Linked DNA regions of Homo sapiens: all the other regions are linked to region 3. Evidence: promoter capture Hi-C in 16 types of primary human blood cells and fetal thymus (Javierre and others, 2016). All regions are on one chromosome and are shown on one strand. Each heading gives the region's core, a stretch centred on a gene start or on the middle of the fragment in contact. The rest is flanking DNA. Distances are from core to core; before and after follow the strand shown.

Evidence for each region. Contacts are between HindIII fragments. The CHiCAGO score rates a contact against its expected background, and 5 or more counts as called.
Region 1: a contact is called between a fragment that was not itself captured here and the fragment with the promoter of CCNO in region 3, in 1 of 17 cell types (fetal thymus). The highest score is 5.1, in fetal thymus.
Region 2: a contact is called between a fragment that was not itself captured here and the fragment with the promoter of CCNO in region 3, in 1 of 17 cell types (non-activated CD4 T cells). The highest score is 5.2, in non-activated CD4 T cells.

The regions. Positions count from the first base shown.
Region 1 is chr5:55,704,215-55,707,071 of GRCh38, forward strand. The region is part of intron 2 of SLC38A9 (solute carrier family 38 member 9); the gene reads right to left. Among named protein-coding and RNA genes, the nearest start is that of SLC38A9, 6.7 kb to the right of the region's middle. The HindIII fragment of the contact is 2,954 bases long and covers 27-2,857 here.
Region 2 is chr5:54,897,927-54,900,807 of GRCh38, forward strand. No RefSeq gene overlaps it. Among named protein-coding and RNA genes, the nearest start is that of ESM1, 86 kb to the right of the region's middle. RefSeq lists a silencer at 1,746-1,903. The HindIII fragment of the contact is 5,239 bases long and covers 1-2,881 here.
Region 3 is chr5:55,232,312-55,235,134 of GRCh38, forward strand. It overlaps CCNO (cyclin O), which reads right to left and starts at 1,297. Exons shown (of 3, transcript NM_021147.5): 1 at 832-1,297; 2 at 50-235. The coding sequence starts at 1,212. CCNO-DT (CCNO divergent transcript) reads left to right here and starts at 1,583. Exons shown (of 5, transcript NR_185977.1): 1 at 1,583-1,729. RefSeq lists enhancers at 1-115, 116-755 and silencers at 904-983, 1,230-1,524, 1,394-1,603. The HindIII fragment of the contact is 3,477 bases long and covers 1-2,823 here.

The DNA of each region.
Region 1 (2,857 bases), core at 254-2,753, 470 kb after region 3:
AACCTGGGTGTAGCACCAGAATTAAAAGCTTAGGAAAGAAATAAACATATTGTAGAGAAGTTCTATTTAGAATTGTATTATAGCTTTATTGATTTTTAAAGCATTACCTCAATTTAAAAAATTAAACATTTTAGAAGTTGAAAAGATGATTGTAGGGAAGCCAGTATCCTTTCATCAAAAAGAATAACACAGAACTTGGGAAAAACTTATTCAGGAAACTCTGAAACACATGAAAATTTTAAAAACCTATAAGTTAGTAAGTACAAGCATTTAGAAAAATGTCAAACTTTTACCAAAGTCTGTGTAAGAGTTTACTATTATTATTTTTGAACTTAACGAAGGTTAATAAAATTTTTATATTGTAGGGAAGAACAGCAATCCATAGAATTGTTAAGAAATGCTAGAGAAAAATTTTAATATTGATAAGTAGCCAGAACCGTATCACTCCTAAATCTCCAACAATGCATAAAAGCACTTTCAGAAAGAACTGCAAGGCATTAATTTGTCTGAATTACACACATTGGGTAATTTGAGATTTGGGCTATTCTGGTGCTATCAAGTAGTGTGTGGTGGTTGATAGCTCACAAGTAAGATTGCCTGGATGTGAATCTTGGTTCTGCCATTTATTAACTGTGCAACTTTGGGCAACTTACTTAAATTCCCTAAGATTCATTGGTTTTGGAGATAATAAAAATACTAGTCTTACAGGGTTTCGGATTAAAATGAGATAATACATATAATGTGGCTGGTACACACTGAATATTCAACAAACATAGCTATCACTTTTATTATGAATTTGGCTGTTTAAAACTAGAAAAATTACTCGTTGGAAGGACATACAAGAAGAAACTTTTTTTAAAAGAAAAAGAAAAAATATGTATTGCCTTAACTTAGCGGCCTGAACAAAATCAGCTGATGTATCTACATGCCTTTAGTATAAAGTGAGCAAACTCAGCAAGGTAAGAAAAATAAAAAGGTTGACCTTTATATAATAGAATTATTGAACTGCCACAAACAAGATAGCACTAAAGGATATCAAAAAGACAAAACTTGGTGTCATTTTTGAAGGAAAATTGAGAGAAAAACACAAGTTAATAGAAGATAGTGGGAGATGGAACTAACATTTATTTATTGAATGCCTAATACTGGCCTAATGTTTTACATGTTATTGTTTAAATCCAATAAATCCTTAGAATTTGGGAAATGGGTATTACCTTCATATTACAAAAAAAAAAAAGAAAGAAAGAAAGAAAAAGAAAGAAATTAATTGAAGCTCAGAGAAGTAATTTGTCCTAAATCACTAAGCTAAGAAAACCATACTTGGGATTGAAACCAGGTCACTTTGATTCTAAATGTTATTTCCAGTATACTCTGATGTCTGCCTTAAAAAGGAGGAGTTAGGTTGGAAGACAAAAGAAGCATCTGAAAATCAGGTCTTCTTTGTTTAGTTTTGTAAATATAAAATAATAGCTATAATGGCAAATGGCCTTAAACTCTTTTTTTTTTTTTTGGTGACGGAGTCTCGCTCTGTCACCCAGGCTGGAGTGCAGTGGCACAATCTTGGCTCACTGCAACCTCCGCCTCCCCATTTCAAGCAATTCTCCTGCCTCAGCCTCCCGAGTAGCTGGGACTACAGGTGCCTGCCACCACACCCAGCTAATTTTTTTGTATTTTTAGTAGAGACGGGGTTTCACCATATTGGCCAGGCAGGTCTCGAACTCCTGACCTTGTGATCTGCCTGCCTCGGCCTCCCAAAGTGCTGGGATTACAGGCAGGAGCCACCGTGCCTGGCTGGCTTTAAACTCTTTAAGACATAATCAGGGCTAGAATGAGTGAAATTTCATGCCTGGGTATCCGGATTACACATTAAACACCATGAATCTGTTTTTCTTGAAGCAAGCTAGTTTAGGTAAATTTCTTTTGTTGCAAAATTTTTTGTCTCAAGGCTCAATATTTCCTTACCCAGCAACAACCCTTCCAGTGGCAGTGAAACAAGGGAAAGGACAGAAGCCAAGTCAGAGTAGCAAAAACATATCTGCCTAAACAATGGCAGAAATATATGGCTATACTTTCTAATTTACTTTGTAAACCAATATACTCTGTAGTATTGGTTCCTAAACTAAACTGAGAATGTGGGTGAGTTTAGAGAGAGAAGATCCTTTCACTTTCTGGAAATTAATACTTTACTTAAAGATTGAAAGTGAAGAAACCAGGAAAGAGGAGAAATCTAGAAAGATCCTTGGATTTCAGTGAACCTTATCAAAAAGTGAAATCAAGGTTGGGGAAAAATGTAAGGGCCACTGAGGAATTAAAATTTCCAGTTTAGTCACCTATGTGTATTTGTTCTGAGCAAATCCAAAGTTCTGCAGCATAGCAGAATTAGCTATTTATTCTAAATAAGTAGAAAACTGATGATTTCAAATAACAAATCATAAATGAGGAGTTCAAAGTCCCTGGTGCCTTTCAAAGATTTATAATATTCAAGTAAATATGAAGAACTGTAAGAAAACTGGTAATTTGCAGTTGTCTCAATTAGTCAATTAGCATGATGTTAAATTTTCAACAGAAATTTAATGTCCCCTCCTTTTTTCCCCACACAGAGCCAAGGTGGAATTTTTTTATTTAAATTTTTTAATTTTTATTTTTTTGTGTAGATGGTGCAAGTTTTGTCACAACAGAAACAACTGTACTCGTTGCTCCTGAGAATTTCAGGTGACAACAGATATGCTTTCTTTTTTTTTTTTTGAGACAGGGTCTCACTCTGTCACCCAGGCTGGAGTGCAGTAGTGCCATCTGGGCTTGCTGCAACCTCCTCCCGCCAGGCTCAAGCTATCCTCCCACCTCAGCCTCTAAAATA
Region 2 (2,881 bases), core at 375-2,874, 330 kb before region 3:
ATGGGAGGAGTGGCAATTACATACTTTTCCTAGTCAAACTTTAGCAATGTATTATTTCACTAGACATTAATTCTTCTTTCTATATAGTAGTTTGTCAAACTTGAAGCTCTGAGGAATAAAAAGATGCCACATATGTCTGGAGTGGAGTATAAAAGAAGAGTCAATCTCATAGTAGACAAACACCCCAAGGACACAGGCTCTTTACACTTGCAGTTTCCTCTGCTTGTGATGCTTATAATACAGACAGCATCCAACTTAGCAAGGTTCAACATTCAATGTCTCTGCTTTGAATGGTGCAAAGGTGATGCACATTCAGTGCACTCCTTAGCTCCCGATGGGGTTGCATCTGGATAAACCCATTGTAAATTGAAAATACCGTAAGTTGAAAACACACTGTTGACTAACAATATTTTCAACTTATGATAGGCTTATGAGGTTCCTGATGGGCTTCTAGGGACATAACCCCATTGTAAAATGAGGAGCATCTGCGTCCTCATGGCTTGTCCCATGCTGCTGTCTCTGCTTAAATGTACTCTAACTGGTGAGGACTCCCATAGTCACCATAGATAACAGCTCCTCCATTCTGCATAAGCTGCTTTTTCTCCACAACATTGATAACCATCTGGTATACATAGATCCTTATTTATAGTTTTCCTTCCCACTCTAATGTAAACTCTATGTGGCAGAGACTTGGTATGGTCACTGAGCAACCCCAATGCCTGCAGCAGTGCTTGGGCCATAATGGGTTTTCAATGACTATCTGTGGAATGAATGAATGAATGAATAAGTGGATACTAAGAGTATTCATGCAATGTCTGTTTTCATGAAATTTTGATAAGCCCTCATGATCAAATTGTGGAGATATTCTAAGAAAATAATTACATCTTGATTCTTTTGAGTAGGTGAATTGCCCCTTTTTTCCCCTCAGAAAAATCTGTTGGGCAGGTAAGCTACACTCAGTAGCTTAAGATGAGTCTCAATCCTGGGACTCAAGTGTTTTAACTCCAAATTCCATCCCATTTCCGTAGCCCAACATGTATCCTTTCCTTTAGCACAGAGAAAGAAGTCTTCTTTTGGAAAGCGTCATTTCCTTTCACTGTCTCCGCTTTCTCACCTCTTTTGGAGTTTAGTCTCTTTTTGACCAACCTCAACCCAGCCTCGTCATCCCTGCACCCGGCATCTTGTTACAGGCACTAGAGTTACTTATTCAGGGCAAACCTCCACTTGCCTCTAGATCCCATTCCCTTCTGCTTCTTCAAGGCGTCTCTCTCTCTCTTTTTCTTTCTCTCCTGCAATCTTCAATATCCCCCTCTCTATTTTTCCAGCTAAAAAGGATATTCTAATCCTAAAAATCCCTTTCCTGATATTATAGTCCCTTCACCATACCTAACTTCCCCCCAACTCTTCTGATCCAACTCTTTGAAGCACATGATGTCCCCTTCTCTTTGCACCCATTCAATCAGGGCAGTATAATTTCTGTTTCCTGCTGAGCTACTGAAGGTAGGATGAGATGAGAGCAGAAAGCGCCAATCACCACACCTGATGGTACTCTCTGTTCTCATCTCGCCCTACATTCAGTAGCATTCAAACTGACTGCTCTTTCCTTGAAATCCTTTCCTTTCTTGGCTTCCATAAAGCAACAGGCTCTGTGTTAACCTCCCACTTCAGTGACTGCACCTGCTTAGTCTCCTCTGCTAGCTCCATGTCCTCTAAGCCATCTCTGCACTCAGAGCTCAGCCCTACCTGCTCTCTTCTTCTCCATCTACAAATTTTTTCCCGCCCCATGGTTTGAAGTACTACATGGAAAGGACTCCCAAATTCATACTTCTGGTTCTGAGGGGCCCCCTGGGTTTCAGCCTTACTTGTGTATCCAAAGCCCTTGTTATGGACCAAATGTCTGGCCTTCTCCCCCACCTCCCTGCCCAAATTCAAATGCTGAAATCCTAACCCTCAATGTGATGGTATTAGGAGTGGGGGCCTTGAGAGGTAATTCGATCTTGAAAATGGAGCCCACATTAATGGGATTAGTTTCCTTATTGGGAGAGACCAGAGAGCTAGCTTCCTCTCTCTGTTCTCTACCATGTGAGGATACGATGAGAAGACAGCTGTCTACAAACCAAGGAGAATGCCCTCACCAGACACTGGATGTGCAGGCACCTTGATCTTGGACTTCCCAGCTTCTAGAACTATGAGAAATAAAATGTTTGTTATTTAAGCCACCCAGTCCATGGGGCCTTATGTTATGACAGCCTGAACTGAATAAGATAGGCCTGCTTGCCATTTTCCCCCAGTTGTCAAATAGTCATCTCAAAATTAATGTGACAAAAATGGAAGCCTTGACTTCTGCTCTGCAAGCCTGGTCCTCCTCTCATCCCCTTCATCTCTGTAATAGCACCACCATCTATCTCATGGTTCAAGTCCAAACCTTACGAATCAACACTCATTCATCTCTTTTCCTTATACCCAAAGTCCTGTTAGCCCTACATCTAAACATGACTCAAATCAATCTGCTTCTCTCCATCTCTGTTGCTGCTCTAATCCAAGTGACCATCGATGCTGTGTTATCTCCCCAGGGTCTGGACCAGCAGCTGACACAGCATGTACTCAATAAGTAGTTGATGAAGAAATGAAGAAATTAATATGAAATTTTTTTCTATTTGAAGTTGTCAGTTTACCATTTTCATAGGAGAGTAATGGAAAGCCAGCCAAACTATTTTACAGCAGAACTCAGAGACCTCAAGGAAAATTTAGAAGTCAGTAAAGTGTGTATCTTAATACCCCCAAATGCCAGTCCTGCTTTTGTTCCCATGGGGACCCTTCTATTCCTCTGCCATCTTCATAATTTCTCAGAGTAAAAACCTACCCTGAAGAAAGGGGCTGG
Region 3 (2,823 bases), core at 47-2,546:
TTGGCTGCGTCCCCAGATGCCGCGTGTACCTGTTTGATACCCCAGGTACCTGTTTGCAAGCGATGAGCAAGGAGGTGACCCCAAGCAGCTGGAAGCAGTCTGCAGCCACCGGCGTGGTGGTGAGGAAGCGGTCCAGAGTGTTCACCGTCAGGCACAGCGACTCGAAGGAGAGGCCGAATTGGCGGTGCACCGGGATCAGCCAGCTGAGCAGCTTACAGCGGGATTCCGCCGTCACCTGCCGGGAAGGAGGGGGGAGGCGGGCCCGCTGGGCTTAGGGTGGAGAGGGACTGTGGAAGGGAAGGAAGGGCCAAGAAGAATCGGGGAGCTTCCCAGGAGAGGGGCAAGAAGATTTCAGAAAGAGAAACGCAATGGAAACTGGGAAACGCGTGGGCCGTGCTGAGCCGGAACACCGGGATTGGGACCTGGCGCTGTGCAGAGAGCGTCGTACACGTTACCTCGCGTAATGGGCTCAGCAATTCAAAGGAAGGGGAGGGGTTCCATTTTGCAGATGAAGAAAGAAGCTCAGGGGTGTTAAATAACTTGCCCGAGTTCGGTAGGAGTCCAGACTCAACCCGGAAACGAATTCCTCTCTACCGTGCCCCAGTAGCCAGCTTGGGACGGGGCAAGTCCCTCAAGCCGTCTACGCCCCACTTTTCTCCATCTGTAAAATGAGGCCGGTGACGCCCCTCCACGGCCCCTTGTGCTTCGACTCGGGGCGGGACCTGGGCTGTCGCGGGCCCGGGCGCTCGGAGGGCCGAGCCGGCAGGAGAGGAGAGAGCCTGGGAGGAGAGGAAGAGCGGCGGCGTGGAGCTGGCTCTACCAGCACCTCACTTGTGGCTGCCGTGCCAGCGCCTCCCGCGGGTGGAAGTGGCTCTCCTGCGCCTTGCGGAAGGCGTAGCAGCTCTGGCCGTAGTCGCGGAAGGTCTGTAGATCTAGCTGCGCCACGGGCTGGGCCGGGCCGGGCAGGGGGCTACCACCCCGCGCCGCAGAGGGGCTCTCTGCGCCGTCTGAGCCGGAGCTGGGGGACTCGAACAGGTCGCAAATGCCGGAGTCTCCCGGGAGCGGGCACGGGTTCAGGGGATGCAGCGGCTGCTTCCTCCGGAGGCGCGGACGCCTGCTCTTCTTCACCGGGGCGCGAAGGTTCTGGTCGTTGTCCCGCCTCCCCGCTCGGGCGGCGGGGCTCGAGGGGCTGGTGGGACAGGGGGTCACCATGATGCGGCCGGGTGGCCGCTTTACTACCTTCAACGCCCGGGCTGCGGCGGGCAGCAAACGCGCACTCGAAAGTGCGAAGGAGGCCGGGCTCAGAGGCTGGCGCGGTCCTAAGTACCCGGCCGGCTCCTTCTCTCTACCACACCCCCGGCCTCTCACTGGCTGAGCCCAGAGCGGCACCGGAGCCGCGATTTTCCGGCTGGAGAACCACTCGCCTCAGGGCGCAGGCAGCGCGTCGCCTCCGCGGCCCGCCGGGGGGAGGGGGAGCTGCAGCGCGCGCCAGGCACCCGCCTTTCGCGCCTGCGTCCTGCGTTACCTGGGCAACCGGAGCCCGGGTCGCTGCGGGAGCCCGGGTCACTGCGGAGCCCGGGTCACTGCGGAGCCCGGTGCACGGAGTGGGAGTAGGGCTGCGGCGGGCGCAGCCAAGCGGCTCCGCTGCGCCGGTTAAAACATTCTCCCAGGGGGCATCTCTCTGTCCTTGGCCAGATGGTCTCGACACGTGCGGGCACCTCTAACCCAGGTCGGTAATTTTGTAAAGGTCTGATCCTGAGTTCCAAACGAAAGTCGGGCTAGAATTCTGTCGACACGGGAAAAGTTTTCTTCAGTGACCCAAACAAGCAATAGTGTTAATTCGGTTGCGTTTGTCGGTTTTGTTTCGGTGGGTACCGGAGTAGCCAGTGCCCTTCCTTCCGCCAGCCTCGGGGAGCAGAGCCTCAGAAGGGCCGTTTGTGCTGCGGAATAGATTGGAGCTCCACCAGCCAGCCACGCTTTCGCGCTCAAAACAAAACGGAAAACTGCCGGATCAACCTCAGTCGGCAAGCAAGTCTGCAGGCCGTGAAGACTTTCTCCCACACTTTTCACCCCAAGCCAAGCAAGCTGGGGCTACAGCGGTTTAAGAACATTGTTGGAAAGTTGCATTTCGAGTTTGATCGAATTGCTCACAGCCTGTTCCGTTTTAGGTCATTAGCTTCTGGCCTTCTGCCCCGCCGGCAGCCCAGTCCTTGGTTTTTCCCTGCTTCCTGCGTCCGCTCCTTCAGGGTGATAAACTCAGGGAAATTAAAGCTGGAATGGGGACGCCCAGGCCGACCGGGCGTGGCAGTTTCCTCAAGGCGCCTCGGGTTTAGTCCACAGACTCCCGTCCTGGTAGAAGCTGGAGCCCTTCTGTGGCCTGAGTGAATCTTCCTGAGGGTCTCTGACCCTATAGGAGAAGGGGCTGCAGGAGCACAAGTAGCCCATAATCAACCTCACAGGCACTTAGCAACGGCAGAAAGCTCAGGTACCCTCAACCCTGGTGTTTTCCAGAGGCGAGGCTACTGGGTGCCAAACCAAGAGCAGGTTCAGCCACCTAACCTCATTCCAGAAGAAAGCTGATAAATGTGTCTGCTCAAAGTACAAGTTTCTGTCTATGAAAATTTAGTAGATGGTGGGATGGTGTCTCCTAGAGATGCAGGTGAAAGAAAAGGAATGGATTTTGGGTTCTGACCACTGTTCCTCCTATTTCCCCATAACTCTGAGCAAGCTCTCTATTCTGCCCTAAATAATGTCATTTGGGCCGGGCGTGGTGGCTCACGACTGTAATCCCAGCACTTTGGAAGGCCAGGGCAGGTGGATCAC